Linked DNA regions of Homo sapiens: regions 1 and 2 are each linked to region 3. The links are contacts of gene promoters, found by promoter capture Hi-C in human tissues and cell types (Jung and others, 2019). All regions are on one chromosome and are shown on one strand. Each heading gives the region's core, a stretch centred on a gene start or on the middle of the fragment in contact. The rest is flanking DNA. Distances are from core to core; before and after follow the strand shown.

What was found. Contacts are between HindIII fragments. The study calls those that stand out against the background at their distance.
Region 1: a contact is called between a fragment that was not itself captured here and the fragment with the promoter of NDNF in region 3, in 1 of the 25 tissues and cell types used here (IMR-90 fibroblasts).
Region 2: a contact is called between a fragment that was not itself captured here and the fragment with the promoter of NDNF in region 3, in 1 of the 25 tissues and cell types used here (heart right ventricle).

What each region holds. Positions count from the first base shown.
Region 1 is chr4:120,751,971-120,755,915 of GRCh38, reverse strand. PRDM5 (PR/SET domain 5) reads left to right here. Exons shown (of 16, transcript NM_018699.4): 14 at 1,278-1,363. Among named protein-coding and RNA genes, the nearest start is that of PRDM5, 170 kb to the left of the region's middle. The HindIII fragment of the contact is 7,591 bases long and covers 1-3,945 here.
Region 2 is chr4:120,731,175-120,735,142 of GRCh38, reverse strand. All of the region lies in intron 14 of PRDM5 (PR/SET domain 5), which reads left to right. Among named protein-coding and RNA genes, the nearest start is that of PRDM5, 190 kb to the left of the region's middle. RefSeq lists a silencer at 869-1,075. The HindIII fragment of the contact is 5,804 bases long and covers 1-3,968 here.
Region 3 is chr4:121,069,299-121,073,801 of GRCh38, reverse strand. It overlaps NDNF (neuron derived neurotrophic factor), which reads left to right and starts at 1,267. Exons shown (of 4, transcript NM_024574.4): 1 at 1,267-1,809. It overlaps NDNF-AS1 (NDNF antisense RNA 1), which reads right to left and starts at 2,440. Exons shown (of 3, transcript NR_187407.1): 1 at 2,222-2,440; 2 at 1-52. The HindIII fragment of the contact is 5,612 bases long and covers 1-3,772 here.

The DNA.
Region 1 (3,945 bases), core at 1,034-3,533, 320 kb after region 3:
GCCTGGTCCAAAGGGAGAATCCTGGGTGCTTCTCCCCAAGGAGGAGAGGCTGGAAAATGTCGCTTGGCAGGGGACACCGCTGCAGGTGCTTCCGTATGATGTCTCTGCTGGAAACAAAGTTGGGGAGAACAGTGCAAGGCCATTGTGCAATGGGGCCAGCCTTGAGATCCAGGAATGTAACTGACAATTTCATGAAGCAGTGTCAGGGACAGGGGAGAGGTCAAGGAAGGCCTTGTTGAAAAGTAGTCACTGGATCAAGCAACAAGGGGCATTGTTGACCCCATGAGAGAGTTGACTGGGATAATGCACATGATATCCAGATTGAATTAAGATCAGAACCAAATGGAACATGAGAGAGTAGAGGAAGAACATACACTGCTAGTCAGAAGGCCTGGCTCTGAAGGGAAGACAAAAGTTTTACATTAGCTGAAGGAAAATATTTTATTATATTGATCTTTGATTGCAGCCAGGGTCTAGCATCCTGCTGTGTAAGTACATTGTTAAATGAAAGAATAAATCAATTAGTGATTTTGAGCTACTGTCCATCCTAAATGATTTGGCTTTGACAAGAGGGCATCTTCAGATCCCTTTTGGAGATTAAATTTTGTCACAGTTTTGTCATTTCACAGTAGAATTTTTTTTGAAATGTGCTGTGTATATGTGTGCTTGTCTTGAAAAACATTTTGGCTGTTTTCAAAATTATAGCCTCTAGGTGAGAGATATTTGATTATATCAGAAAGTATGGATTAATTATTATTTAGTTTAACTACCAATGGTCCTTTTGAACATATACCAATTTTATGAAATTCTTTTGAAACTCACAGCCTTAACTGAGTCAAATTCATTTATATGAAACAAAAAAATTAAACAGAACAAGGTGTCAATGAATCAGTTAAATAATTCCCCTTTAAAGAGTAGTACAGTGATAGAGCAAATTGATTAACATAAAATATTTTTAACAAATTCTTAAAATGAGGAGATTTAATTTGGTCTCAAGTATTAAAAGGAATATGCAGCAAATATGCTACTGGCAAATGTTTATTTTTGAGTATCGGAAGTGCTCTGGGCTCAGTGCCCTCTCCACAGGAGGGGAGGCCACAGTCCACTGCTGTCCTGCACGACCCATGCTTGGATCTGCCCTGCTGTGCCTGGAGCCACTTCTTGAAGTAGCACAGGGCATATGCGGTGGCCAGGATCTGAGTGTGTGAGAAGTGATAGCACAGGACTGGTTCTGCTACTTCATGTTTTTCTGACATGGAGGCTTCCTTTATTTGTAGGTGAGCGTCCCTATCAATGTCCTTACTGTGAAAAAGGATTCAGTAAAAATGATGGACTGAAGATGCACATTCGTACTCACACCAGGGTAAGATTATATTCTGTTTCATTAATATTGATCATGAAAACCATACTTATTTTAAAAGAAATATATTTAACTTTATATTACAAAATAAAGGCAATACACTGGAAGTTGTATATCTATATTTATGACAGATATTTCAGGATAATTTTTTTTAAAGATAAAACAATGAAAGAAAAGAAGAAAAAAAACACAAATTGAAACCTCAAAAAGGTTTTTATTCTTTGAATCAGGACTCAATTTTCAGGAGTTATAAATGATGAACTTCAAGATAAATAGATTTTAAAATTTTAATACTACAATATTTAAAGGTTTTTCTTGCAGAATATTCACCAGTAATAGGAACATTTTTTAATAGAGTCTGCAAGTTTGTCAGCATTTGGCCATTAAGTAATACTGATGAGCAAGTATATTTGCAAGAAAGACATTGCAGATAAATTACCAGGACAGGTGGAAAATAAGGAAGTGTAGCTCAGTGCTTCACAGGGCATGCCTAGTGCTGTGGCTTATTCTTCCCAGGGTGCCCTTTGTTCCTTTGCTGTCAACACTCTCACTGGACTATTGTCATTCTGTTATCTATGCCTTTTCCAGACTCAAGCATCTGTTTCACATGCTTTTAAAAAAATGTAAGCAGCTTACTCACCATCACCCACCATTTCATAGCTCACTATTCGATTTAAGCACAATTAGACACTTTAAATGAACTTTCCACATGGAAATTTTATATTGTTTTAAATAGCTATTGTTGATTTTGCTCTATACAACTTTTCACTGCATTATCTTTCACAGTTTCTTTTCAGTTTGGCCTTTTAAAGTGCGTATGGTCTGTATGTAAATGATGTATTTTTTTTTTCAAATTTTAAGAGACTTATCTAATCCCCTTTAGAACAATTCTAATTTAAACCTCTCCTGGATTTTACTTTTTACCTTAGCTATAAAATAAAAATTTTAGAGAAAACACATAATAATAATATTCTTCCCGGTATAATAATACTGTAGCCTTCCACTTCAGTTCTGCAGCACGTAAAAGCTATCCTCTGTGGTCCCCTTAAGAAAATACTCTTTTTGTCTTTGTGGTGAAGAGAGGGAGCTTCTCCACTTATTAAAGCAAATCTATAGCAGGTTTCTCACTCTAGTTTGTAGTATCATATTCATTCATATTATATGAATATTAGGAATTGGAGTACTTCCTAGATATAAAAGTACTTCATAAACCATAAAGGATTAGACAGATATTCCTGTTTATAATAGTATGATTTAAATGTACAATATCCAAAATATTTCACAATGAGTATTATGAAAGAGGTTTAAATTAGCTTGAGATTAGGAGGTTATTTTACATGTGAGCAGTTGTCACAGATGTATCAATAATGTATTTATTTAAAAGATGCCGACAAAAAGGCAAAGGGGCCCTGGTTCCTCTTAATAGAAACTAGTGATATTGACAGAAATTTACATATGATGTTGTTTTACTTGATTACTGAAGATAGACATGATTACAACACAGAAGAAGCTGTTTAAATCACTGCAGGAAAAAATATCTTTTGGGTTTTCTCAAGAAGGTGAGACATTTCCAATTCAATTAATTTGTTTTTTACTTCATTTTAATATAAAGTTATTAATGAGAATAATACAGATAGTTAAGATGAATAAAAATAAACACAAAAATCACTAATTACATGCCAGTACTCTTTTAGGCCTTCACATTTATTAATTCAGTTAAGCTTCACAACAACTCTATGAGGTAGCTGTTATTATGATTTATTTTTGTAAAACAAGAAACTGAGGCACAAACAAGTAAGTGGCAGAGTTGAGATTTGAACCTAGGGAGACTGGCTACAAAGACCATTTGCATTTTTTTGCCTATTATTTAATTGAATATTTTCTCATTCCACTGTCTCATATATTTTCTGGTATATTTCCACACTAAGCAAATTACAGTAATGACCCCAAATTTAAAAGTCCCATATTCTTTTGAATTTCTGAACCTCGATTTAAGGATCCCAACACTGTCTCCAAAGTATTCAGCTGCAGATGGTCCCTTGTCAGAAGTTTTCTGACATTAACTGCACAAAAAGAAAACAAATTCTAGGCTTTGACTAAGGGAACTCAAGAGAGTTTATAGACCAGAAGCACCCAGGATTTTAGGCAGGATCCCCCACAATGAGTAATGAGTAGAAGATCCAAGGAACAGGGTAAATATGTGTAAGCCTTTTGGGTTTTACCTCAAACTCTTTTTTAATTTTCCTTTTTCATGCATTTTTAAAATATTTTACCCAGACAGTTTTATTTTGAAAATCCTGTTTCCTAAGCATTGAATAAATACAGATAATCTTTGCATATTAGTTCAAATTTTCAAAAGCCTACTAAGGTTATCAGCTAGTACAATCAAACTATTATTAAAACTCAAAAGAGATTTAAAAAATGTGCTAGAGGAACAACCTCTGCAAGGTCATATTTTCCCAGTATTATTTGCATTTTGTAAGACTCCATTCAAAAAAGATACTATTACATTTGGGCCATAACACATTTCAGTTTCAATTTTGCATTCACATTACATGAGCATTTAGATAGCTCTAATTCCCAGA
Region 2 (3,968 bases), core at 1,412-3,911, 340 kb after region 3:
AACTTCACTTAACAATGACTTCAAACAGTTGTTACATGTATAGAGAACTCCTGATTAAAGGGACTTTCTTTGACCAATGTGTTATGTTTCTAATTGTAACTCTTTAAGAACATGCATTTGGTCTCAGATGGCCAACTAACTGTTACAGAGTCAGCTTCTGTGCTATGTGCCGTGTACTGAAGGAACAGTTAAGAAAAGGCTGCAGCCCTTGCAGAGTCTGGGGGAGAAGACAACGAGATAAAGCATGGCAAAGACCACGCTGAAAGTATCCCAGGGTGCTGTATGTGCACATAGGAAGATCACTTACCTCAGCATAGGAGGAGGGCTAGGCAAGGAAAGGTGTCGGAAGAAACAGAGGAGCGTTTAGTCTGCAGAAGTAGAAAATACACTGGAGACATCTATGTGGAATGGAAAAAAAAGTGGCTAAGCCCCAGAATATTGTCCAAAAGGAAACCAGGAAGGAGCAGCCAAAGAGGCTGAAGGAGAACCAGGAGAAAACAGGGAGGTGGCACTGAAGCCAAGGGAAGGGAAGCGTTTCAGCATTTCTGGGAAAAATCACATGCTCTGTCTGAATCTTGCAGTTTTATGATACATATAACCATATTCCAGATTCTGAGAAATCCAGCAATAAAGGCATTTCTTATAGTTTGTTTAGGCTAGTGTTTGCCAGGCTAGTTTGAACGTAGTGAGTAAGGGTGTGTGTGTGTGTGTGTGTGTGTGTATTTGTGTGTGTGTGTGTGTGTGTGTGTGTTCCACTAACATCTCACTGGAGCTAGTCTTTTACAAAACACAATTCAAGAATCTCTGGTCTAATGCATCCCATGTATGGCTGCATCAATACTTATAAAGATTGCTTTGATCAACTGTCTCAGTTGCTAAAAAAAAAACAAACAAACAAAGCCCTCCCCCATCCCCTACAGCGGCTCCTCTCTGCCTGCAGAATGGAGCCCAGGTGGCTTAGCCTGGGTGCCCTGTGCCAGGCTGGCTGTGCTGCCTGCCGTCTGCCCCGCCCGTGCCCCCTTCCTCCTGGACACTCTGGGCCTCAGCCAGTTTGGACCATGTGTCCTTCTCCTAAGGATGACCATGCTTGCCTAGGTCCACTTCAATACTTTTTGAGGCTACAAATAAAGCAGTCCCTCTCCTGGTCAGGTCTCACTTTTTATACATTCTTCCCTGCCACCTCTGCCATCGGCATACTTTACTGGTACATTAATTATATTAGCCCAGTTTTTTTGTTTTTTTTTTTTTTTACTTTTGTGTCATTGTTTTTCTTCTGTTTCTTTTTTTCTTAGAGCTTAGTTCACGTATTCATTCAGTCTTTCCACAATATAACTGCATGTTGTATGATTTTATCCTCATCCTCATTGGTATTTATATATCTTTTTTGTAAAAATGGAGACTTTCTAAATAGATCTTTATTAACATTATTAACATCGAAAGGACAGTGTGTTTAAAACCTGGTCTCAGCCACCTGGAGTTCTCTGCATACCCAGAAGGGGAGTGGGAAGCTGGCATTGTTGCATTAGATATTCTTACAGTGAAAGAGAACCATGTGTGATGGCAACATTGGAACATGGAAAACAAAGCATCTGGCTCTGCCCCAGGGAGACCAGGTAGGGTCCACTGAGGAAGTCTGAATTGGATCAGAAAGTATGAGTCTGAGTTTTCTAGGAAAAGGAACAAGATTGGGGGTAGGGCATTGCAAACCAACTGAGTGTCGTGTGCAAGGATGTGAAGCTGTGATTTGTGGGTGGGTGAGAAGCCCACTGTAGGAGAGAGCCCAAGGTGTGCGTTGTTGAGAACTGGAGCATGAGGTGGGGGTCAGGCAGGCATGGCAAGACTGTGAGGAGTCCCAGGTGCTGGGACAGGAAGATAGGATTGATTGTGTTGATAACAGTAAGTCAGAACAGGCTTTCATTTGTTTCCCAGTGAGAGAATGGAGTAATAAAATGAACAATAAGACTAGGTGTTCCCTCTTTACTGAAACACAAACCTATGAAATAAAGAAAATATTCAGTCCAAGCAGCTCTGTCTATCCCTTGAACTTACCTATTTTTCTTTCATATCTTTTTTCTTTTATATCACACAAATGGTCTTGTAGGTTGAGACTAGTAAAACTATAACAATTGCTAAGGCTGTAGGTATTTGCTATTACTAGCTAGAACAAAATACAATGCACAACATTTCTAAAATGTCTTCATTATTTGTGACCTATTTTGAGTGCAGTCTAGAGTCACAGAATATCCCAGCTGCAAAGCATATAAGAGGTCAGTTGATCCAACCCCTTTATTTAAAAATGAGGGAATTTAAGTCAAAATATCGTAAAGACTGGGTATAGCTAGTTATAGCAGGAATATTTCTCTCTCTGCAAGCACTTCGATGACATTATCTTTCCTCAAATTCATTTGGTCATGAAATTAAAGGGAAACTGAATAACAGGTTAGGTTAGAGAGCAGGAGTATTATACCATTTTTTAGTTTTTATAGTTTTTTATTTTTAGTAATATGTTATATAAAATTATTACCTGTTTAAAAAATTTTATTGTGAAGTAACCTGTTGTATTGTCCTGAGGTAACAACCTCAGAGATCAGTTATTTTCAAGCAATACATCTGATTTCAAGAGATAAGTTACAATGAATATAAAATTTACTTGTTAGGAATTTATATTGTTATTACTATTGGAATTTGTCTATCTTTTCTGTAAAATTGGAGATCTTGTAAGTGGATCTTTATTAATGTGAAAAGGACAAAGTTTCTGAAAGTGCATAAAACAAATAATATTATCTGATTACTTAATATTAGATGTTAAGAAGTATATTTTAGAATGAGTAACTTTTTATTGATCATTATATACTATGTACTGAGTTAAGTACTTATATTCTAATCAAGAAATCTTCCTAATGATCATATGAACTGTGTATAATATATTCAGTCTTAAGAATAAAACAATAGATAATAGACCCTGCAAATTCTCCCTTTTTTATGTTCAGCTACCAGTCTTTTAGATGACCTCCATATGGTAAAGACTGCAGGAGCTCCTCTTAAGCCACCCAAATGCCTACCCTTATCCTGAGATGGTTCAACATTAATTTGAACACCTCATCAGACACACAGTTCCTTAACTATCTTAGCTATAGGAACCATTACAACTTCTGTCACCTACTCACAGAATTATACCCTTAATATTTTCAACCAGCTTGGTGTCAGAAATTCCTTGCCTTGCTAATCACAGAGACCCAGCCATGTCTCTTAAACATGAAGGGGTTTATTTATAAGTGTGCAGAAGTAGGCATTCCAGGGATAGTTTGACACTTCCACAAAGTCATCCAGGCATGTGGCTTCCATTGTCAAGGTTCCAGTGTGACTCAAGATGGATTTTGCCACTCTGGCCATCACATCCTCATTCCAGGCAACAGGAAGGAGGAGGCAAGAGAAGGTAACAGGATACGCCCCTGCTGATTACACTTCCACTAAGGAGCTTTCTGGAAGTCCTACCCACCAACTTCCACATGACCACACTTGGCGGTGAGGAATTCCGGAATTATCATCTTTTCTTAAGCTTGTTGCCACACTAAATAGAATTACTTTCTGTTACTAAAAACAAGGGAATAAATATAAAGCAGATTTTTCTCCAGTCTCATTTGCCAGCCCAAAATTATACCATTCTTTTTCTAGACTTTTGTTAGTTTTATTGCTTTAACTGACATCTCCTTCTCTGCTGTACTGCCTGGCCTCTTACCCATAAGTAAATTTTTGTAAAAAAAAAAAAAAAAAAGAAGACCTCTGTTTAATTGAAATTGCCTCCTCCATCATTTTCTGACCATCTCATCTCATAGCCGGGTGAGGGACCCCTTCTCTGTGCTATCATCACTTGTTGTACATTGCACTGCACTGAGCTCTTTTGGTGTCACTTTCTCCCTCAAATTACACCTGTAAAAATCTCTTGCTCATGGTGGGCGGAACTTCAG
Region 3 (4,503 bases), core at 18-2,517:
GTATCTCCTAAGTGGAGATACAATGAGGACTTTTCTCACCTCATTGTCTCATCTGCAAAAAATATGCTTGCACAGTGATCTGAAATGTCCTTTTCAGTGTTTAAAAATTTTACAAAACTATTTTATGTCGTGTAAACGGTTTTATAAATCCATTTCCTGCAGTGTTTTCATCTAGGAACCACAAAACTTTAGGAGCTGCATTGGTCCACCCTCTGTGACCAACTGTTTAGCAAAAAAGATCATAGTTCTTAATATGACCGGGATAAGGCTGATTTTCATCCTACCTACCTTAATTTCATTGTGGCAATAACAGAACTAGTGTTTTCAATACTGACACTATATCTTAATAAATAATTATATATTATTAGAACTTATATAAAACCAGGTTTGCTGGAAATCAGGTTCTCAGTTGCAAAAATGAGATCACCAAATCATTCGGTACTTTTTTTTTCTTGGTTTTCCTAAGCCCAGGCCAGGTTGCTAATTAGGTAACTTTTTATCATAATTACCTAGTCAGCCTTAATGGCTTCACACACTCTGCTCCGTTTCACTGGTCCTGTAGGGCCGCTTTTTCAATTGTTAAAACAGCTGCTGAGTTTCAAATCGGAGGAGGCTCGGTCTGCGCCGAGGGGGAAGCGCTCCCTGAGTGAAGGCTGTGATAGGCAGGCGTTCGGGTGAAAAGTGGGACATGAATGCACAGTTTGCACACTCTGCTTTCCGCCTCCAACCACCAACCTTCTGGATTTAACACGTCCCCCTCCCTGCCCCCAGATCAACCCCAGAGTTTCCCTCTATTGTGCACCCCGGTCTGCTTGACAGTGTGATGGTCCCGCGTGCGCGTCTCCTGGGTTTTGCAGCTTTGTCGGGGGCTCGGTGGGCCTCCTTCATTCTCCCCGAGTGGCGCTAAGGTTAGGACAGCAGCGTGTCCCTCGCGATGCCGCCCGCGAGGGTCCTGTTTGGGGAGCGCTGGGTCGCTGAGCAGGGTGGTGTGTGTGTGAGAGAAAGAGAGGGAGGGAGGGCTACAGGGAGAGAGAAAAGGAGGGAGAGGGTGTCTGTGTGTGAGTGTGTGTATGTGTATGAGTGTGTGTGTGTGTGTGTGTGTGTGCGTGCGCGCTGGCGCGCAGCGGGAGGGAGAGAAGGAGGGACGGAGGGGGAGGCAACGGGCAGAGGAGGGAGGGGGCGGGCGGGCAGCGGTGAGGCGGGAGGGGTTAGGGCTGGGAGGGGAAGAGACTCCGGGCTTCAGCAGTGACACTCGGGAGCGAACACACACTCCCCACTTCCAGCCGCGAGAGAGTGGAGCTAACTGAGCAGCGCACCCGCCACGGCCGCTGCCGCCCCGTGCGCCCGGCTCTCCCAGCACCCCGCGCGGCGCTCCAGCCAGGCGCCTGTGCGACTAGCGGCGGCCGGCGAAGCCCGCGCCAGCCCCGCGGGTCGCTGCGGCATCCTCCCGCCGCCCAGCCCCCGCACGCTCCCTGCAGTTTAAAAGGACCTCCCGCCGCTTCTCGGCGCTGCCCCGGGATTCCCCAGCCCCGCGCGGCTCCCTACTCCACTTCGCAGCAACTTCGGCGACCGCGCGCCGCCCGCCCTCGCCCGCCTTTGAAGTTTGCTGTGCCGACCGCAAAGTTGGGACACTTCAGCGGATTGAATTTTTCTCTTTTATCTGCCTCCGTCCCCGCCCTCCAGGCTTCTCGTTCCTGGATATTGGTGCTTAGCATCTTGGCAGGGTCCGGGGACGTGGACTATTTCGCACACCACACCACGGGGAGGGATTTTTTTCTATTTTCCCTACGAAAAACAGATCTTTTTAAGGTAAGTGGGGAGAGGAAAGCAATGCCCCAGAGACCCGACGCCTTAGCCCGCCACCCTGAGACCTAGCACAAGGAGCGTTCACGCCCGAAGGGTCATCCGAGATGGGGGCTCGAGGCACGCGCCCCCAAATCTTCAAGGCCCAAGAAGCTTCTCAAGGGCGCCCTATCCGTAGGAGCTGAGGGCATGAGGGGCAGGAGCAGGTTTCCCTCGTTTTTTTTTTTTTATTGTTGTTGTTGTTTGTTTGTTTGTTTGTTTTTAATTTAGCTGCTTTCGAAGCTGGGCGGCCCGGAGAGATGTGAGGAGGTGGACAGACAGCGCAAGGGCGGGGAAGACCTGGGACCCGGGAGCTCGGGGTGCAGTGGGGTCTGGGGAGCCGCGGAGCCTTTATCCCGGACTTAGCCTGGACACTTACTTTGCCCGCCTGCCAAGAGGGCTGTTGCCTCCCTTTCCAGGTTCATGCCCTCCGCCCGCCGCTAGGGAAAGTCTGCGGGACTGGGGTTTTGCAGAGGGCGTCTGCGTGTAGGGCGAAAAGCTAGAGGTCCAGGCAGCGCACGAGTTCTTGGTGGGCGTCTGGGAGCTGCGCAGCCGGGGCCGGGAGTTCGGTTGGCCCGACCCCCAACCGCTCTGGCTCCTCATTTGTCCTCTGCGTGGTAGGCGAGCATCGTTATAGAAACTTCCTTGGGCTGAGCGAGGTGGCCTGGGACCGGCTCATACTTTCTTCCGGAGAGCAGAGCGGCCACCGAGGTGACGCCCCCTACGGCCCCAGCCAGGAGACTCGGCTTCGTGCCCTCGTCCTGTCTGTGCGTGAGTTGGGGTTCGCTCTCACCCGCGCTACCTTTCTAACTGAGCGGAGTCGCCGCGGCCCCGATAACCTAGGAGTCCGAACGAGTGATTGCAGGTCCCAGCTGTTTTCTTGGAGGCACTTTGCAAACTGCTGAATTTGGAGTGCGGTTTCGTTGCATTGTGCGCTCTCGGTTCACCTTTCTGCCCGCACCCTATCCCAGGCCCAGGCGTGAGAGCTCCCGGCAGTTCCCCGGACCCGCCCCGCATCAGCTCCTCGGAGTTTGCCGCGGGCACCTCTACGCTGTCTCTGAGCTGTCCCTCCGGCCAAGTTGCGGTTCCCCTCCTGGCCCCCTTCGGGGCGCTGTCCATTTCTTGCTCTTGGGTACGGGTGGCTCCCTAAAACCAAGACCTTGAGCGGGAAATGAACCTGAGTGTATGTCTGGGTTTTGTTGTTGTTGTTATGTTTTTTCCTTCTTTTCTTTAAATTTATTTACAGAGTTCTTTTTAGCAACTTTGTTGGGTTGATAAATTTGCTTCTCATCTGTCGATCCCGCTAAATCACAAAGAAGAGTTTATTTTTTCATTTAGTTGCTGCTTTCCCCAAACACACTACCCTCTCTTTCCCCCCTCCACCCCTCCTCCTGCTGCCTCGCTTCCTGAACCCTTTTTCTTTTCTGACGGAGGGAATCTCCGCACCTCCTCCTCTCCTCCTCCCACCCGGTCCCTGAGCGCCTGTGAGAACCAGGGGAGTCATCAATGGAAATAAATAGGACTCCGCTCCATTCTCCGCCCCCTTCAAACAAGTAAAATCCTCCCTGGGTTCGGAGAAGTAGAGATAAAACATCCCTCCCAAGGGAGCGGTTGCAGGGGATTTGATGGGATTGAATTGTTTTATTATCTTGAAAGAAGTGATGGATGGATCCGAGAGGGAATATGTATATAAAGCAGAGTGTAGTGAGGGCGATCGGTATGATTATTCATTATTGTTTGTTAAGAGTGATAATAAGGCCGCAACCTTCGCTCAGACTGTGTTTATACTGGGGTTTGAGTTTATGTCAGTCTCTTATTACAGTGGTTTCAGAAAGTGAAAACACCAAAACCGTATTAATTCTTCAGTCATTCTGCATATGGGATTAATCAAATGTCAAAAAAGATACTGTCGTTTTACCACAGTTTTAATCTATGATCTTTTAGAAGGTTGCACTCTTATAAAATGTCATTTGCCTCCATCTGTCTTCTTAAAGTTTAAAAAACTTGGCAACATAATTAATTATGGTCCCAATTCCCATTTTCAATCTAAACCTATATTCAGGATTATATTAAAATACCCCATCATTTATTCCTCAGAAGTGACTCTTATGAGTTTAAACTCTTGGAGGGGAGAGAGGGACAACTGGGAATGAGGGGCCTAGGAGTTAGATAAATTAGTACTATTTCAGATTTCTCTAAAAATTCCTTTACTTCTTCCTTTAGAGAAAGAAATTACAAGGTCCTTCTCTGCACAGTTCATCACTTCAGTGAATGCCCTTAATCTTTACCACACACTTGAAACATAACAGCTTGCAGCCTTGTCTGCATTATTGCTTTCATTTTTGTGTCAGGACATTTTATTCATTAAACCTGTATGTCAAAGACTTAGGCTTAGTGTGGCAGTAACACTCTGTTTTAATTAGTAACTATCATAAAAAAGAAGCTAGAACTCTGTAATAGGCCTAAATTGCTATGAATTATGTTTGGTTTAAATTACGCATTTATTTCAGCAGAAATGAAACCATGAATATAAAACATCTTTTAATCACTTGCAGATACAGCTTTTATCTCTTAGGATGTAACAAAATATGTAATTGAAAAATATCCTTCTAAGGACAAGAGAAGCCCCCACCCTCAGCTTATTTGTCCTGGGTCTGTTTA